2 separate regions of the Homo sapiens genome follow, and region 1 is linked to region 2. Evidence: promoter capture Hi-C in human tissues and cell types (Jung and others, 2019). All regions are on one chromosome and are shown on one strand. The core of a region is centred on a gene start or on the middle of the fragment in contact, and the rest is flanking DNA. Distances in the headings are between cores, read along the strand shown.

Region 1 (3,600 bases), core at 430-2,929, 510 kb before region 2:
GACAGTAGACTTCTGAAGCATCCCATTCTGACTAGGAAATGGTCATGAAAGCATCCCTCTTTCTGAGGCCGATGGGCTTGTGGGGGACAGGACTTTTACTCCTTTTCATCTAAGAGGTTTATACTTACCAGGCTGTGAGAACTGACATCTGTGTTTGGGCTGAAAAATTGATAGCATACATGCATAATAGCCTCGCGACAGCTATGCTTTGTACGCCAGGAGAGGCAGGTGGTCCCCATTAGCGAGGCATGAATTGTGGGTGAATGGCTAAACCTGGAGGATGCAGAAAGGTCTTTTTCATTAAGAGAGGGGCCTCTCCTGAACTTGTAGGCAAGGAGTGTAAATATACATTGAAATAATCCATCAGCCAAGTGACTTCCCTTCGTCAGACCTTGGAGAGAGAATGCTTTAGTTACTGCTTGGAATACCAGTAAGCTATCAGAGTTGCCTAGGATACCAGTCACATGGGCCCATCTTCCAGACTTGCTCAGGATGATTTATTTTCCTTTATTTTGGAGAGAAGTGGGGGAGGGGGTCAGAGGTACTTGCAAAGCCTTGTCCTTATAAGAGGGGCCCTTGTGTGAGGATATCCTTACCTCTCTCCACTTGAGTTGTCAGCCGCCCTTGCCCTTGGCAGTAGGGACGAAAATAGCATTTCCTGTCCCAGTTATCTTCCCCATTTTCTGATGTCGTCCCACACAGAGGAGGCTTTGCATTGTGTCCTTTGAGGGGAAAGGGGTGGCATCGATGAGTGGGGAGGAAGCAAGAGAGCATGTAGCTGGGCCCTGCTGATGCTGGGATCTTCCTAGGATGACTGCAGAAAGAAGTAGCCTGGCTCCTCCAGCTAACCACTCAACCAAGAAAAGGCTGTCTATTCTTATCTGTCTCGGAGCATATGCTTCTCTCCTCCCAAGGTCTCAAGACAGGAATTTGCAGTAAATACATTCCTCTACCACTGAGTCTTCTTGACTCTTAAACTGAAGTGCCACATTGGCATATCTTGCTACTGGCTGATCTATGGATGATAGATAGTTTGTCCCATTTCTTCTTGCTGATTTAATCTCAAGAGACAAAATCCTAAGCAGAAGTTGTGGTATGATCTAGAAAAATTCAAACCAGGTAGTTTCATGTGTTACTTTATGCAGTGTCTGTCTTCAAACTCTTCAAAACATGTAACAAGAGTGAAAAATGAAGAAATACTCTTTTTCCACCTTTCTGATTCTTTCTCCCCAGGCAGCCGTGTCTGTGTTTTTGTCTCGCAGAATTAGAGCCCATTGGGAACGATGCCACCACCGTCAGACATTGTCAAAGTGGCCATTGAGTGGCCAGGTGCTAACGCCCAGCTCCTTGAAATCGACCAGGTATGCTCCTGAAGTGAGAAGCAGTGGTTCAAGGAAAGGCACCTGGGGAGTGCATGGCAGAGGACATCTTGAGGGATGGGGACCACCGGCATCAAGAGTAAGAACGAGCAACAGGAAGGCTAAGCTTTGGGCCTGGCCCACCCTAGGGAAGGTCGGTCACCATGGCTTGGGAGAGGCTTCCTCTTCAACAAAAGCTGTTAGGAAAGAAGTTCATTCTCATGCCCCAGCTTGACCCTGCTTGGCAGGCCTCTTGTCAGAACCTTGGCATGAGTAGGATGTTGCTGCTGTTGAAGGCTTTCTCTCTCTCTCTTTCAGAAACGGCCCCTGGCATCCATTATCAAGGAAGTTTGTGATGGGTAGGTTGAAATGGACCTCGTTTTCAACAGTGGCAGCTCCGACTGAAAGAGCACTCCTACACCTTGAGGGGAGTTCTGGGAAGGATCTCCAGTTAGGCAGGTCCTCAGCATGGGGGTCTTGGGAATCATTGTCTTGGGAAGGAAGTACAGTTGACAACCATACCCCTAAGACGTTTATACTTCTTAATTTTTTCCTTAAAGTCTAGCATTGCCCTATTGAGGTAGGATCTGAGACCCCTCCTCAGTTCTGCACACCTCCTATTGTGGTGCTCATCTTTACAAAAGGCTGAGGCCATGATTTTTTCAACATGACAACCTAAAGCTTTGTTTCCACTGTATTCCAAATAGGCCACCCAATCCCTTGAGCAACTCTTTTGAAAATTACTTATGAGCAGCTTCTGAACAAGAGAGTGGCCAAGTGGGATATACTGTTTTTCTCTTGCATAGGTGGTCGTTGCCAAACCCAGAGTATTATACCCTCCGTTATGCAGATGGTCCTCAGCTGTACATCACCGAACAGGTTAGTACAGGGAGAGGCAAAATCAATATGGGCCTTGCTTGGAATTAAACGACCCAAGGAGACGGCACTATTTATCTTCACTCAGCATCCAGGTAGCTTCCATGTGTTGGGTAAAGAGTCACTCTCCGGACAGACTGGGAAACACCAGCCCTTGTTCTTCCCTAGTGGCTAGAAAAAGGTGGCTTTTACTTCCTGAGTGCCCAGGGTGCTAGAGGAGGATCTTAGAAATTCTTTGCCAAGGAATAAGCAGGAGAAGAGGGCCCGACTGAAGATCCTCAGTTACATCTACTGTAAAAAAGACAAAACATTATTGTTGATTCAACTTGCTTGTACCACTTTAACATTTTATCTTAGTTACTTTTTTTGTTTATTTTTCACTACCCAGACTCGCAGTGACATTAAGAATGGGACAATCTTACAACTGGCTATCTCCCCGGTAGGTATTCTTTCTTCCTTAGGAGTTTATTCATGTCACAAACAAATATGAGCACCTACCATGGGCCAGACTCTGTTCTAGAAATAAGTACTCTGGAGATAAGAAAGTCAGTCTTTTTGTATCAGGAAATAGTACAGGAAAATAAGTCTGTCTTGGTTCTCACCACCTAGTGGGGAGTAAACAAATGCAATAGAAGGCCTGTCTCAAGGGTCTTGAGAGAAAGTTGCTTAGGGAGCTGTGGGAACTCACAAAGGGGACCACCTAACTCAGCCTGGAGATTTCCAGAAAGTCTTGCCAGAGAAGGCGTCACTTAGCTCAGATGTTAAAGGATGAGCAAGAATTAGCTAGAGAAATAAGAAAAGGAAAAGTATTCCAGTCAGAGAAATCAGCATATGCCAAGGCACAGAGGTATGCTGTGTTTGGGAAAAGCAGGAGTGCTGGGTGGCTGGAGGCTTGTAGCAGTCATTGAGAAGCCAGATATTCAAGGTTCCTTGATGGCCTACTCGTAGGTTTCAACTCTGTCCAGAAGGAAACTGGGGACATTGAAGAATTTTAAGCAGGAAGATATGTTATGTTTAGATTTTAAGTTTTAGAAAGATCACTTTAGTGACCATGTGGAAGATGGGCCTTAAGAAGAAGGTTGGTGGTAGTAGGAACCTTTGAAGAGGCTAATAAGGAATGTTAACAGCCCAGTGAAGGCAAGTGGTAATGGAGATGAAAGGATGGATATGAAGAGTATCTAGGAGGTAAGCTTTATGAGTATGGTGATATGCTAGATGTGGAAGGAAAGGGGAGAATGGAGGATGACCCTGATTTGTGCAAGAGCAGCCCTTAAAGGTCACTAAGGAAGCAACCAGAAGGGTAGAAAGAACACCAAGAAGGTGAAGTGACTGAGGAGCTTTGGGCAGGGAGAGTGTCAGGACTGAG
Region 2 (3,480 bases), core at 610-3,109:
CAGCTGTGGGGAACTCCATAGCTAGGATAGGCAGTGGAAGGAAATGAGGATCCACCAGGATGGTACAGACTCTCTCCCATGCTGGATTAAACTTCTTGAATACTTGGAACATCTGGGCCAGGCCTTCAGTGTCCTCCTTGGCAGGGATGGCAAAGTAGACTGCTCGGGCAAGATGACCCTCCAGCTGCACCCGAGGTCCATCCACCAGGAAGGTATATAAGACCTTACCCCTTGGGTTATAGGTCCGGTGGATAAATAAGATCTCAGGGAAATGGTCAAAGACACTTTGCATAAAGCAGCTCTGGTAGTTGAAGGTATCTAACTGGGCAGTCTTGTTAACCTGGTGCAGCAGCATAGGTGGGCTTGAGTCCTTAATCAGGAGCCCATTCAGCATTGTCAGGGCCATGGGAGAGATGGGAGCTGTCCAAATGCCAAGGTCAAAATACTTTCTTTGCAGGGCAGCTGACCACGGGGCTTTGAGTCTCTCAAGCATCAAGTAAGTTGAGGCTGGAGGCTAGACAATCATTCCCAGATCTTTTTTCCAAAGATGGGCCTATGGAGAGTAACAGAGGTTTAAGGAGACAGCAGGGACCTGGCTCTTCAATTATTCATCCACACAATATTTGTTGAACACTTACTATATGTCAGCACTGTTCTAGGGGAAGATACACAATAAACATGTAAACAAATAAGCAAATATATATCCAATAATGAAGCTTACAAAGACCATAAACCTGAGTAACATGTCAGAGAGTAAGCTGGGGAAGGGAGGGATACTTTAGTTAAAGTGGTAATGGAAGGCCTCTCAGGGGAGAAGGATGACATTGGAGCTGAAATCTAAATGATAAGAAGTTAGCTATGGAAAGATATGGTTCCAGGGGATTTAAATAGGTATGGCCAGAGCTGCATATGGCCTTTTAAAAAAATAGCATTCTAGCCAGGTGCAGTGGCTCACACCTGTAATCCCAGTACTTTGGGAGGCCAAGGTGGGCAGATAACTTGAGGTTGGGAGTTCGAGACCAGCCTGGCCAACATGGTGAAAACCCGTCTCTACTAAAAATACAAAAAGAATTAGCCGGGTATGGTGGCCCATGCCTGTAGTCTCAGCTACTCGGGAGGCTGAGGCAGGAGACCTGCTTGAACCCAGGAGGCTGAGGTTGCAGTGAGCCGAGATTGCGCCACTGCACTCCAGCTCTGGGTGACAGAGTGAAACTCTGTCTCAAAAAATAAAATAAAATAAAAATACGATTTTATATTTATAAATGACTGATTGGCATCCATTCTTTCCTTTGGTCCTGGTATGTATAAGAGAACTGCAATTGCTCCAAACTTGCTGTGTTATCTTGGGCAAGTCAATGACCCTCTCTGAGCCTCAATCCCTTCCACCATAAAATATGGCTAACAAATGTGCATAGCTTCTCCTGCCTCTACTATATCCCTCTTTTAGCAGCAATACTCTATTCCATTGTTTCCTCTATTTGGCCCCAGACCGAGTTACTGTCCTCATTTTACAGATGATAAACTAAGGCTCAAAGAAGCTAAGTGACTTGCCCACCATTACTCTGTAAGTAGCTGAAAGTTGAGTCTTTGGTTCGGGATCCTGACTGCTGTCCACAGTACCTGGGGTCCAAAAACCAACAGAGGGAATACGGCCTTTGACCTCTCACCTCTAACCTGGGTGGGAGATGTGGATGTCTGACATTCCCAGAGTCCAGCTGGAGCCGGATGAGAAGAAAACCTCCCTCCCATCCCTTTGGGAGCTGTGTGACGGCTAACTGCGGTGATCCGCTGTCTCACACTTTCACCCCTTCAGGAAGCACTCACCCACAGCCAGGCTCCGTCGCCATTTCTCCCTATTTGACCCTGCCTCCGACTCTGACTGACATCCAAACTCACCAACCACAGCGTCAGCATCGCAGTGACTCGGACCAATGTCTGAGGAATTCGCTTTCAGGCTTTAGCACCACGGACCAATCGTAGCGTGACGATTCGCGGGCGGGCCGTGTTGCCAGGGTTACAAGGAGCTGGCTGGAGGTAAAGATACTTGCATCTGGGAGAGCTGAGCCTTGAAGCTGGAGCTCCGGGGCTTCCCTTCAGGCTAGGCGACTGGAAGGACACGTTACTATGGAAACTCCCTCAAAAGCAGAAAATGAAAAGGAAAATAAATAGCAGTTATATATATATTTTTTCTTTTTCTTTTTTTGAGATGGAGTCTCGCACTGTCGCCTGGGATGGAGTGCAGTGGCAAGATCTCGACTCACAGCAACCTCCGCCTCCCAGGTTCAAGCGATGATTCTCCTGCCTCAGCCTCCTGAGTAGCTGGGATTACAGGCACCCGCCACCACGCCCAGTTAATTTTTTGTATTTTTAGTAGAGACGGGGTTTCACCCTGTTGGCCAGGCTGGTCTCGAACTCCTGGCCTCGTGATTCGCCCACCTCAGCCTCCCAAAGTGCTGGGATTACAGGCGTGAGCCACCGCGGGTTTTGTTTTGTTGTGTGTGTGTGTGTGAAACTCTAAAGCCCCTGGAATTTAGGAAACAGTGCATATATAGTCATAACGCATATTCTACCTTATGGGGAAACTGAGTTCCAGGTCTCAAATTCTACTCCTCCTTCGGGGATCAGGAGCCCAACTTTTAGAGCTGAGGAAATCCAGATCCCCTTAAACAAGCCAAAACTTGGCATTCTCTAGCCCAACCCCCTCCAGTATTCTACAGAATGATGCCATGACTTATTTAGGGTCCTACTACAGTAGTGCAAGGGCCTACTAACTGGTCTCTTGTCCTCAGTTCCCTTGAAGATGGCAGACTTAGAAAACTGGGTGTTTACCAGGCCTTGGAGGATTAAGATTACCAACTAGCAACATCAAATCAGTGTTGGTACTTACGCATCGAAAATGTTATTGGGCTGGGTGCAGTAGGTCATCCCTTTAATCCCAGCACTTTGAGAGGCTGAGGCAGGTGGATTGCCTGAGATCGGGAGTTCAAGACCAGCCCGACCAACATGGTGAAACCCCATCTCTAAATACAAAAAATTAGGCAGGCGTGGTGGCACATGCTTATAATCCCAGCTACTCAAGAGGCTGAGGCAGAATCGCTTGAACCCAGTAGGCAGAGGTTGCAGTGAGCCGAGATTCTGCCATTGCACTCTAGCCTGGGCAACAAGCAACAAGAGCGAAACTCCATCTCAAAACAAAAAACAAAAAGGTGCTTATGTAAACCTAGAGGGGAAATCTGGGATTAGAACAGGCCAACATGCTAATTTTTACAGAGGAAACTGAGGTCAAAGAAATTGCCCACAGTTCCCCAGCAAGTTGCTGGCAGTCAAGTCTAAGATTCAGGTTTTTCCCCCACACCCTCCAGTCTATTTGGCCTCTTCCCGCTAGAATATAAGGAAACCTGAAATCAACCTTGAAGGCTTAGTTGTAGGAAGGAGGCAAATTAAGACGCAGATTGCCAAATCCTTGAATGTGAGGCATCA

Evidence for each region. Contacts are between HindIII fragments. The study calls those that stand out against the background at their distance.
Region 1: a contact is called between a fragment that was not itself captured here and the fragment with the promoter of ZSWIM1 in region 2, in 1 of the 25 tissues and cell types used here (liver).

The regions. Positions count from the first base shown.
Region 1 is chr20:46,392,166-46,395,765 of GRCh38, reverse strand. ELMO2 (engulfment and cell motility 2) reads left to right here. Exons shown (of 22, transcript NM_133171.5): 3 at 1,234-1,361; 4 at 1,677-1,717; 5 at 2,165-2,237; 6 at 2,623-2,673. The coding sequence starts at 1,284. LOC124904917 (a long non-coding RNA gene) reads right to left here. Exons shown (of 3, transcript XR_007067614.1): 3 at 1-2,525. Among named protein-coding and RNA genes, the nearest start is that of ELMO2, 13 kb to the left of the region's middle. RefSeq lists an enhancer at 1,033-1,532. The HindIII fragment of the contact is 3,871 bases long and covers 1-3,600 here.
Region 2 is chr20:45,879,606-45,883,085 of GRCh38, reverse strand. It overlaps ZSWIM1 (zinc finger SWIM-type containing 1), which reads right to left and starts at 1,859. Exons shown (of 2, transcript NM_080603.5): 1 at 1,825-1,859; 2 at 1-553. The coding sequence starts at 493. RefSeq lists enhancers at 1,770-1,849, 2,100-2,149. The HindIII fragment of the contact is 12,007 bases long and covers 1-3,480 here.